4 separate regions of the Homo sapiens genome follow, and regions 1, 2 and 3 are each linked to region 4. Evidence: promoter capture Hi-C in 16 types of primary human blood cells and fetal thymus (Javierre and others, 2016). All regions are on one chromosome and are shown on one strand. Each heading gives the region's core, a stretch centred on a gene start or on the middle of the fragment in contact. The rest is flanking DNA. Distances are from core to core; before and after follow the strand shown.

Evidence for each region. Contacts are between HindIII fragments. The CHiCAGO score rates a contact against its expected background, and 5 or more counts as called.
Region 1: a fragment that was not itself captured here is called in contact with the fragment with the promoter of AK4 in region 4 in 1 of 17 cell types (monocytes); the score reaches 5.3 in monocytes.
Region 2: a fragment that was not itself captured here is called in contact with the fragment with the promoter of AK4 in region 4 in 3 of 17 cell types (erythroblasts, monocytes and megakaryocytes); the score reaches 6.4 in erythroblasts.
Region 3: a fragment that was not itself captured here is called in contact with the fragment with the promoter of AK4 in region 4 in 1 of 17 cell types (erythroblasts); the score reaches 5.1 in erythroblasts.

The regions. Positions count from the first base shown.
Region 1 is chr1:65,812,211-65,814,910 of GRCh38, reverse strand. All of the region lies in intron 1 of PDE4B (phosphodiesterase 4B), which reads right to left. Among named protein-coding and RNA genes, the nearest start is that of PDE4B, 21 kb to the right of the region's middle. RefSeq lists an enhancer at 2,510-2,700. The HindIII fragment of the contact is 2,879 bases long and covers 1-2,700 here.
Region 2 is chr1:65,677,375-65,680,074 of GRCh38, reverse strand. No RefSeq gene overlaps it. Among named protein-coding and RNA genes, the nearest start is that of PDE4B, 110 kb to the left of the region's middle. The HindIII fragment of the contact is 2,836 bases long and covers 1-2,699 here.
Region 3 is chr1:65,706,989-65,709,688 of GRCh38, reverse strand. No RefSeq gene overlaps it. Among named protein-coding and RNA genes, the nearest start is that of PDE4B, 85 kb to the left of the region's middle. The HindIII fragment of the contact is 1,579 bases long and covers 464-2,042 here.
Region 4 is chr1:65,146,927-65,149,626 of GRCh38, reverse strand. AK4 (adenylate kinase 4) reads right to left here and starts at 1,424. Exons shown (of 5, transcript NM_013410.4): 1 at 1,075-1,424. The coding sequence starts at 1,219. RefSeq lists enhancers at 1-175, 176-894 and silencers at 488-767, 828-1,127, 1,508-2,007, 2,018-2,257. The HindIII fragment of the contact is 4,960 bases long and covers 1-2,700 here.

The DNA.
Region 1 (2,700 bases), core at 179-2,678, 670 kb before region 4:
GGTATTTACTCAAGACAAATAAAAACATATATCCATGCAAAAACTTATACAAAAAAAAATTTGTAGCTGGTATTTTTGTAATAGTTTACACCTGGGAACAACCTAAATGACAATCAACAGGTAAATGTATAAAGACATTTTGCTATATCCCATACAGCAATAAGAAAAAAAGCATCCTTTGAGTGACAGAAACAAAAAAAAGCAGATACTATATGATTCTATTTATATAAAATTATAACAACTAAAACTAATTCACAGTGAAAGAAAGCAGATCAGTGTTTGCCAAAGGATGGGTTAGAGAGAGGAATGGACAGCAAGGAGGCACCAGGAAACTTTCGAGAGTAATGGAAATATCTTGATTGTGGTGTTTTCATAATTGAACACATTTGTCAATAGTCACTAAATTGTAGCCTTTTAAATGAGTTTAACTTATTGTACTTAAGCAGTATCTCAATAAAGTTTCTTTTAAAAAAAAGCATTACAGAAGGTGCACAAAATAATCCATTGGTTATAAGAATATATATATTACATTCATCTTTTATCAATGTATTTCATCTTCATAAATTTCTGTTTTCACATATTCTCTACAGCATCTAAACATATGTACATATAATAAGATGATGTGACTTAAATATTGTTATAAGGATGAGGGAGCAAAAGGATTTGAAGACTACCAGTCCAGCCAGCTAGAGGAAGAGTGCTGACACACACCCTGAGCTGTTTCCATCAACCAGCAGCTGCCTCGGGCAAGGCTTTGGCAAGCAATGTGCTGTAGTCAATTCACGACTGAATTTTCTGTCAAGTGCCCAGAGTGCCCCAGCCCTTCTGTTCACCTGGCTCTCGACTCTGGGTAATACCCAAAGCTCAAAACTTGGACTTCTTCACTGTTCTCTTTTTAGTCTAATAATTGGCTTAAAGCTCACATACACTCAGGGCTTCTATTATCAGCATAACACTGAAGACAAACAAATCTATATTCCAGATCTCTCAACTGTTGTTTTTTTTTTTTTTTTTTTTGCCGCAGTGCCTACTGCCTATTGGACACATTATTTTTCAAAGCTACATTCTAATTCAAATTCAGTATTTCTAACCCCATAGCTTCACAAACCAATTTCTTCTCCTACTCTTGCACTGCTGCCAAAGAAAAAAATACCCTGAAGTTATCCTTGATTCATTTTCCTCTTTTACTTTAAAAATCATAATTTCTACCCATTTGCCATTAAGGTCTTAATTTACCTATCTCATCTATCTGTAGCAGTGATTCTTTGAAACTATAGAGGACCCCCTCCTCAGAAAAACTACACTGGCACACATTTTTCATACTATTTTGAATATGATTTCCAGGGCCCACAATGAAAATGTATAGATCTCTATATTGTTCACTTCTAAAATCTGTTTACTCTGATCTGGCTTTTTCCTGAGAGTTCCAGACCACCTTCCAAATACTTTTCAGATAGGTATTATTTTATATGGCAAAAATATCTCAAACTTGCACGTTCAAAACTCAACATGCCATTTCCCCCAGCAAAACTGTATCTTTTTCTTAGTCTTTCTTTAGTGAATGGCAATTCAATTCCCCCAATTAATTAAAATAGTAACTTGCATATTACTGTTGACTTCTTTCTCCCTCCGTATACCTCTCACATCTAAATGGTAATTATAGTGACCTCCCACGATTAGTTAAGTGGCATGCATTTGACAAAGTATTAACAACCAACCCACCATATATGCTTACATATTTTCTGTATGAATTTAAATAAGTGACTCACTCCTCTACAGGTGAGCAGCTAATAAACCAAACCCTCAATACCTCATTCCTGAACTCCCTCGGTAGCCTCCTAACTCTCTGCCTGTTCCCAATCTCGTTCCAGTTTTAGTATCTCCCAACATGTCTTAGAATAGATTTAGGTATTCCCTCTCCAGCCCCTACAGAAACTTTAGTGTCCTTATCTTCATTCTTAAGGTTTTGTATTCCTGGGGCAACTTTTCCAGGGCTGTCTAGGACCCTTAGAAAGCAGTTGACAGGCAAATAGAAATAAAGAAGCTAGAGAATAATTGTTTAAGGTGTTATACTCTCTCCCAACCCCTGCCCAGTGCTATCTATTTGTGTTTTCATGGAGACTTTAGAATAGAGCTTCTCAACCAGTGCATTTCTATACATAATATCATATAGGAGGCTGAGACAGTCGTCCCCTCAGTCCCTAGGATAGGCATGTAATTCCTAGAACCACAAACAGCATTATCTATGTAGTTCAGTATTTACTACAAATATTAACATTCCAAAGTGTGCCAATGGATGAAAAAAATAATTGAGAGGCATTTAAAACACAGAAAGTCCCTCCAGTATCTAAAAACAATGAATTTCCACCCTGACATTTTACTGTCTTGGAAATTTAATGCCACCAACCTATAGTTAAAACCTACATGATTATGGCCAATTACATTTGGAAGGGATTTGTCCAAGTTGGCCCTGGATCAGGGAGAGCAGCAGCAGGTGAGAAATGCTGCCTTTGAGCAGCTGATGCAACCCAGGTGTGGCAGAGCATGGAGGGCCATACCCTAAGAAGGAGACCAGCAGAGAAACTGAAACAAGTGAGTAACTAACCTACAAGAGGACCCAGAAATTTAGAAAAGGAACTCTCAGAGCAGAAACTGAAAGCCAAGAACAGAACCCAAAATTGAGTCAGAGGAAATGAGGCA
Region 2 (2,700 bases), core at 32-2,531, 530 kb before region 4:
CAGCGTAAGGTGCAGACTAAGACTCTTTTTTGTTTTCACATGTATGCCCAATTTTTCAGCACCACTTACTGGGATTACAGGCGTGAGCCACTGCACGCAGTCCATTGCTTGATTTATGATGTTGAACCAGTCATATATTCCTGCAATAAACCCCACTTGGTTGGGATATATTATCCTTTTTATGTTTTGCTGGATTTGATTTGTTAATGTTTTCTTGAAGATTTTTATCTTCAACTGTTTATATCTGCAGTTTTCTTTCTTATAATATCTTTGTCTAGTCTTGGTATTGAGACATCCAATACTAATAAAATGAATTGAAAAGTGTATTCTCTGTTTTTACTCTGGAAGAGATTATGCAGAGCAATCAGGCAAGAGAAAGAAATAAGGGGCATCCAAATTGGAAAAGAAGAAGTCAAAGGATCTCTGTTTGCCAATGATTTGATTGTACACCTAGAAAACTCCTCCAAAAGACTCCTAGATTTGATCAATGAATTCAGTAAAGTCTCAGATTATAAAATCAATGCACACAAATCAGTAGCACTGCTATACACTAAGAATGTCCAAGCTGAGACTCACATCAAGAACTCAATTTCTTTTACAATAGCCGCAAAAAAAATAAAATATCTAGGAATATACTTAACCAAAGAGATTAAAAATCTCTACAAGGAGAACTACAAAATACTGCTGAAAGAAATCATAGATGACACAAACAAACAGAAAAACATCCCATGCTCATGGATTGGAAGAATCAATATCATGAAAATGACGATACTGCTCAAAGCAATCTACAGATTCAGTGCAATTCCTATCAAAAAGACACCTGCATATGTATGTTTATCACAGCGCAATTCCCAACTGCATAGATATAGAACCAGCATAAGTGCTCATCAACTGATGAGTGGATAAAGAAACTGTGGTATAAATACACCATGGAATACTACTCAACCATTAAAAAAGAATAAAATAATGCCTTTAGCAGCAACTTGGATGGAGCTGGAGGCCATTATTCTACATGAAGTAACTCAGGAATGGAAAACCAAATACTATATATTGTCACTTACGAATGGGAGCTAAGCTATGGGTGCACAAGTGCATGCAGAGTGGTACAATGGACTTTGGAGACTCAGAATAGGAGAGGATGGGAAGAAGATGAGGGATAAAGAAAACTACATATTGGGTACAATGTACCAATTTGGGTGATGAGTGCACTAAAATCTCAGACTTCACCCTTATGCAATTTATCCATGTCACCAAAAAACACCTGTACCCCCAAAAGTATTGAAATTTTTAAAAAGAAAAAAAAGAAGCTGTGAATTTCTTCCACGGATCCTCATATTAGATGCCTGTCTACTCAGTAAACTAAAAATATTTCTTCCTATATATGTCAAGCCACACCTATCTACTTAATTTTTGGAGACTGTGATCAATTAGCCGTAACCACAGATATCTATGTTTAAATAATCTGGCAATCTTGTTTTCCCTATCATGTAATCAGATATGATATTATAAAAGATGAAAGTATGTTTCTTGGTTGAAAGTCTGAGATTGAGCCCAGTCATGGGCTGGGACATGGCAACAATCTGAGGATTATTAGAGATACCCACCATCTGTGTTTGTTCAAGGGAAAGGTTGTATAATTGTGGTAAGGCTTAAGATTTATATTGTAGTGCCCATTTCAATAAAACAGTGCAAGGTTATTGGTATGGTTTGAATGTGTCTCCCAAAAATCATGTGTTGGAAAGTCAACCCCCAATACCACAGTGTTAAGAGGTGAAATCTTTAAGAAGTGTTAGGCCATGAGGGCTCTGCCCTCATTAAGAGATTCATACCATTATCCCAGGAGTAAGTTCCTTATAAGAGGATGAGTTTGGCCCTCACTTGCTCTCTCTCTTTCTCCTATGTGATGCCCTCCACCATGTTATGATGCAGCAAGAAGGCTCTCACCAGATGCCAGGCCCTCAATCTTGGACTCTCAGCCTCTGGAACCATGAGCCAGTTTGTGACATAAATTACCCAGTCCGAGATATTCTGTTACAGCAGCACAAAATGGACTCAGACAGTTATACTTTAACATATAGAGAAATGTCTTCTTGTGAGTTTGTCAACATTTTTATTATTGTTTAATATGCCCAGGTTACCCACCTGCTGACTAATTTATTTGCTTAAGAATACATCCTGTACCTCACTCTGTGCTTCTAGGCTCCATTTCTTTCTTGACTAAATCATTTGTTGGTTCTTTCAACAAGGTTCTATCAGTGGTGGATTCAGGTGCATTGTTAGTTTATCTCACTATTTTACAGATATTGTTCTATTGCCTTCTAGTTTCTATTCTTGCTTTTGAGAAGCCTACTTAGAGTTTATTTTTTCTTCCTTTGTAAGTTGTCTTTTTTCTCTGCTTTTGAAAAATATCTTTTCTTTATGGTTGTAGTTTGGAAGTTTCATCATCTGTCTAGGTGTGGATTTAGTTTTATTCACAACCTGGGCTTATGATTGCTGGGTCTTTAGGTTAATATTTTTCATCAATTCTGAAACATTGTCTCTCAGAAGACTCTTTGCCTACTATCTTTCCCTCATCTTCTTCATTATCTCTCTTTAGAGTTCCAGTTAGACACATAGTATACCTTCTCTCTCCACTTCCATGTCTTTTATACATTCCTTTTCTTTATCTTTTTTTTCTATACACATTCTAAATGTAAGCTT
Region 3 (2,700 bases), core at 4-2,503, 560 kb before region 4:
TAGGCTTAAATTGAGCTGCCAGTTTAAGACTTGGGATTTCTATCATCTTCTGACTGAGATTTGACCCAGCTATTTTTTGACTTCTAATTACTTCTATACAGGTGATCCTTCTCCAGTGTTCTTCAAAATAGAGATTGACAGAAAATTTTCTTCAGCTGAATCCTCAGCTCCTTGATAATGTAAGAAAAAAGAACATTCTGTGGACTTTCCTGGTCCCAGTTGTGGTTTAAAAAAATAATAACAACAGAATGTTAAAAAGATAACTTTTCTATCTCAGTTTTGATGAATGTGGTACATAGCAGATATCAAACTACACGTAAAGCCTAAAATAGGGTTGAGAGAGTGGATATAGAGAGAGAGGATTTGGAAAGAGATTTCTTCGGAGAAAGCATGACTTTGCTGTGAGACTCCATCCTATCCCATCCAAAATGAGGGGAAAGTTTATCTCGGTCACCTTAAAGCTTACTGATGGGGCATTCACTGGCCTCGAGGAGAGCTTTACATTGTGCTTTAAAGCTGGAAGACACTTGCCCTGACCCTCAAGCAAGAAAGATAAAGCAGCCTTTGGGTGAAGAATAAAAACTGCCACATTGCAATGGGCCAGCACTCCCAGAGTTTGTCAGGGCAAGGGACGAGTACCTATTCCCTGTGGTCTTGCTATGAGCCACACAAAAGAGAAGGGCAGATTGGACTCATGTTAAGTCCGATCAAGAGAAGTATTTGACGCCTGTAATCCCAGCACTTTGGGAGGCCGAGGCAGGCGGATCACAAGGTCAGGAGATCGAGACCATCTTGGCTAACACGGTGAAACCCGGTCTCTACTAAAAATACAAAAAATTAGCCGGGCGCGGTGGCGGGCACCTGTAGTCCCAGCTACTCGGGAGGCTGAGGCAGGAGAATGGCGTGAACCTGGGAGGCGGAGCTTGCAGTGAGCCGAGATTGTGCCACTGCAATCCGGCCCGGGCTAAAGAGCGGGACTCCGTCTCAAAAAAAAAAAAAAAAAAAAAAAAAAGAGAAGTATTTGAGAGGGTGAAGAATCGGCTGTAGAGATAACTGGAAAACCAGGGGCTGGGGATAGATAGCAAGGTGGGATGGGGCCGGGTTGTGAGTCAAAGGCGGGGTGGTGAGTCCATTCCCAACATCAAGGAAGCTGCATTGAAATACCACAAAAGTAGCCATAAAAGCAAGTCCTCTTGAAACACCCAGATCATGATGCTATCTGGTAAAGGTCAGAAATGGCAGCTAGCTTGTCGGGAAGGAGAATGAACAGAGCAGAAATGCATGTCCTTCCCTGGAGGATGCAGGTTCAGCAACTAGAGGTAGTCCTACCTTTTAATATGTATTAGGTTTGTGCAAAAGCAATTTTAATGGCAAAAACCGCAATTGCGTTTGCACCAACCTAATATATAAGGGAAAATGGTATCTTGAACTGGACATCTTTAATATGTGAATCCAGACTGATTTTGAAACTTAAAGAGACAGACCTGTCTATGGAGGCCTGGCAGACACAGTTTTATCCAGGAAAAGGAAAATATTTTCTCCCTGGAAAAAAAAAAAAAAAAAGTATTCCAGTGGACAATGGCAGACTTACTGATAGCTAGCTTCCTAAGTACCAAGCAGTCTTCTAAATGCTTTGTCAGTGCTAACTCTTTTAATCCTCACCACACTCCTGGGAGGCAGATATTATTTTTAACTCCATTTTGAGGACCTATGAGGTTGCTGAGGTACAAAGAGTTTAACTAATTTGACAAAGGTCACAGAGCTAGTAAATACCCAAGTTAGGATTAGATATTTAGCAGTCTGATTCCATCAAGCTCCAAAGTTGGATGCATTCATTGAAAATTATGTAGTGAAATAACTGAAACTCCTCATGGCCATTTTAGAGGAAAAAGTGCTTGCGGGCATTAGGAATCATGAACATTCTATCCTCACTCCTTGGCACATAGTATAAGCAATCTCATTAATTGCTTGGGGGTCCTTACCTTCCAGTGATAACTAACCTAGGGAGCAAAGATCATGTTTCCAAAATTAAGCTGTAAGCTTCTTGCAATTAATGAGAGACAATTTCATACTTTTTTGCATAAATGTTGCATATGTAGGACCATAATAATCATCTGTGGTGATAACATGTGAATTTAAGGAGATTTCATGGGAAAAGACAATTATTTTTCTGCTAGTGATTCAAACTTGATTCAAGATAGGTTTTGAGTGAATTGTGAACATAGGCTTGATCTAAAGCTGGTGAAATATGCCTTGCATTTTCCATATTTTCTATTGCTACCTGGGATCTAATATTTACTGGGGTAGAGAGAAAACCAACAATTACCAAGCATCTTTTATATACCAGTTGATTTCATTGTAGGTTATTACCTTATAGAATTCTCATGAGAAAGATAATTGAAGTAATTGCCAGTATCTCCATTTGGCCGATTTTAACAATAACTAACATTAGTTGAGCACTTCCCCTGTGCCAGGCACTATTTTAATTTTTAAATGAATTCATTGATCCCTGTAATAATGTTATGAATTATTATTTATCTTATTTTACAGATGGGGAAACTGGAGCATTCACAGGTTAAAAACTTCCCCAATATTTTGCCATTTAGGACACGGCAATGTGGGTATTTGAAACCAGGAAGTCGCCAGGCGGGGTGGCTCAGCCAGGCGTGGTGACTCACACCTGTAATCCTACCAGTTTGG
Region 4 (2,700 bases), core at 175-2,674:
AGTCTGTGCTTCTGAAATGCAGATCTCCGGATAATTAGTCCATGATGGGCAATAACCAGCCCGGACATCCTTGAGAAGTACATCGACAGTAAAGGACCCCTGCTGGGAAGAACAACTTTTCATAAAGGAGTTGCTAATTACCAGCATCTCCATCCCAGAAGGGTTAAGAGCCTCGCAGCAGCACAACCGCTACCTCTCGCCTTTTAACGCCAATTCTTTCGGAACTGGTGTGAACGTGGAGTGGGAGGAGAGGGGGAAAGGGACGCACTCAACCCCGTCAGACTAAGAAATCAGGCGATCTATATATCCCCAAGTTCACCACGCCAGCCAAAGGAGGCATCTCATGCCAAGGGAGGCAGCTCAAGAAGCCATTTCCAGGAAAGCTGCATTACAAAATGTAATTTATCAGAACGAGTCTCCTCCGAGTCTCCTGACGGCCAGGCCCGGCGGCTTCGGGAGGGGGGGGAGTTGCTGGGGAGAGTTTACCTTAGAAGGCGACAACGAACAGACAGGCCTTTCAAAGCCACCCAGGGCTCTGCCCCGAGGCCCGAGGCTGCGTGGAGGGGCTGGAGAGGCGCGAGGCTGCGAGCCCCCCGGCGCCACAGGTTCCCCGGCGCGCGGCCCCGCCCGACTGCCACAGGTGGGCGGCGCTCCGCCTCTGGGCTCCCGCGGGAGGGGGCGCGCGGCTCTCTAGGGACTCGGGGGAGGGGGCCAGGGCTAAGGGGTACGGGGACGGCTCTGCCTTAAGGAGGGCAGCGTGAGACGGAAGCTCCGGGTTTTCCCTGCCTAGTTCTCGTTCCCTCGGCCGGGTGGCTCGGGCTATTCCTCGCGACAGGAGGAGCGGTGGAGAGGAGCCGTGGGCACCTCCCACCGGCCGCCCCTGGAGCCTCGGCCTCCTCCCCAGGCGCGGTTAAGCCGCGCGGCCGCCAGCTGCATGCGCCCCGGCACGTACGAGCCTGCACGACCACACGCGGGCGGGGGAAGGGCGCCGTGATCCGGGAGCCCCAGTCCCTCCAGGGCCTCACCCCAGCCCAACGCGGCTCGCCCCCGGCCCTCGTCCCCGCAGCCCCTCACCGGTGCTGGCCTTGATGTTCTCCCGCAAGAAGTGGCCGCTGGAGAGATGCTGGAGACCAAAGTTCTGGGCGATCCTCTGGCACACGGTGCCCTTGCCCGAGCCGGGCGGCCCGAGGATGACCGCGCGCAGGAGTTTGGAAGCCATTGCCTTCGCGAGGAGGGGGGCGGTCAAACGCGCAGCCCCGACCGCGGCCCCGGAGGAAGCCCCGGGAACTTTGTTTCTCGGCCCCCTACCTCTGGCACCCTCCGCTCTCACTGGGACTCGCCGGCCGCCCCTACAGGGGGAAGGAGAGACTTTTAAGACAACCCCTCCCCTCAGCCCAGCGCCGGGACCGAGTAGCAGGCGGACTGAGCGCCACGCTACACCTCCCCGCCCTTCTCCACCTCCTCGCCCTCCTCCACCTCCTCGCCCCCACGCAAAGCTGCTGAAGCGCGCCGTGCCCCGCCCTGCCGACTCGGCCTCCAGGGGTCAGAGGTCGGCCCGGCCAGTCCCACCTTCATCCTTAACTCCAGCTCGCTCCCCACGCCGCGTCCGAGAAGGGGGCCGGGCGGCCAGGCATCCCCAAGCCAGTCTCCGCCGAGCCGGGGAAGCTGGCACAAGCGGGGGTGACTCAAAGCCAGCCCCCGCCGCCCCACGCACCGGGCGGCCTAGGGGCTGAGCCCCTGCCCGGTCCTCGCACGTGGGCAACGTGTGGTCTGCGTCTCGTCCCCTCCCCGGCGGCTGTCACATCCCCCGGAGTCTCAGCTGCCGCCGCTGCCCGCCGCCCGCGCGCGCTCGGAGGGGCCCACCTCCGCCCGGGGTTGGCGGATGCGCTCCCCGGCCATGGGGCGCGCGACGAGCCCGAGCCCCGCGCCTCGCCACCAAAAGCAATCAAATAAACACACACCTTGGCTGGAGGCAGCACTCCGAGAGGCTTCCAGCCCGGATCCTGCAGGGCGGCGCCGCCTCCGCCCGCCCAGTCGCGGAGCCCCGGCCGGCCGCGCGGGACTCGCGCCTTACGTAAGCCCGGGAGACCGGCTCCGCGCGAGCCGCTGGCCGCCGCCCCCTCCCCTCCACTCCACTCCACTCCCACCCAGCCTGCCTGGCCCACGTGCTCCCTGCGACCCAGCGAGGGCTGCGGGGGCGAAGCGAGGTGCAGACCACGCGAGGTAGAGAAACCCCTTTTTTTCTTTCGCGGTCGCCTGGGGACCGCGGTCTACTGCAAGGGAAGGGAAAAATACAACTTGTTGAGCGCCTACTGTGCGCCAAGTTTGCGGCTAGGTGATTTCATTGTGTTTACAGCCGAGGAATGGAGCGTGACCATTCATTCATTGATTCATTCTGCAAATGTTTATTGAGTGCCTACTGTGTGCCAGAAACTATTCTAGGCGCTTAGGATCTAGCCGTGAACAACAGATCGAATCCTGCTCTCAAGAAATTGCGTCCTAGCGGGAGGCTGGAACCCAAGACTGACTGACTCCAAAGTCTAGGCGCCTTAGGGAACAGGGAAGAAGGGGATGTCCCTCACCTGTGTTCAGGACCTTCTTGGTAAATGATTCCAGGACTTCCATGCGCATTATGCTGGTGCTGCACCTATAACTCACCAAGTCCAAATGGAGTCTGTCTTCCCCCACTCCACCCTCCCC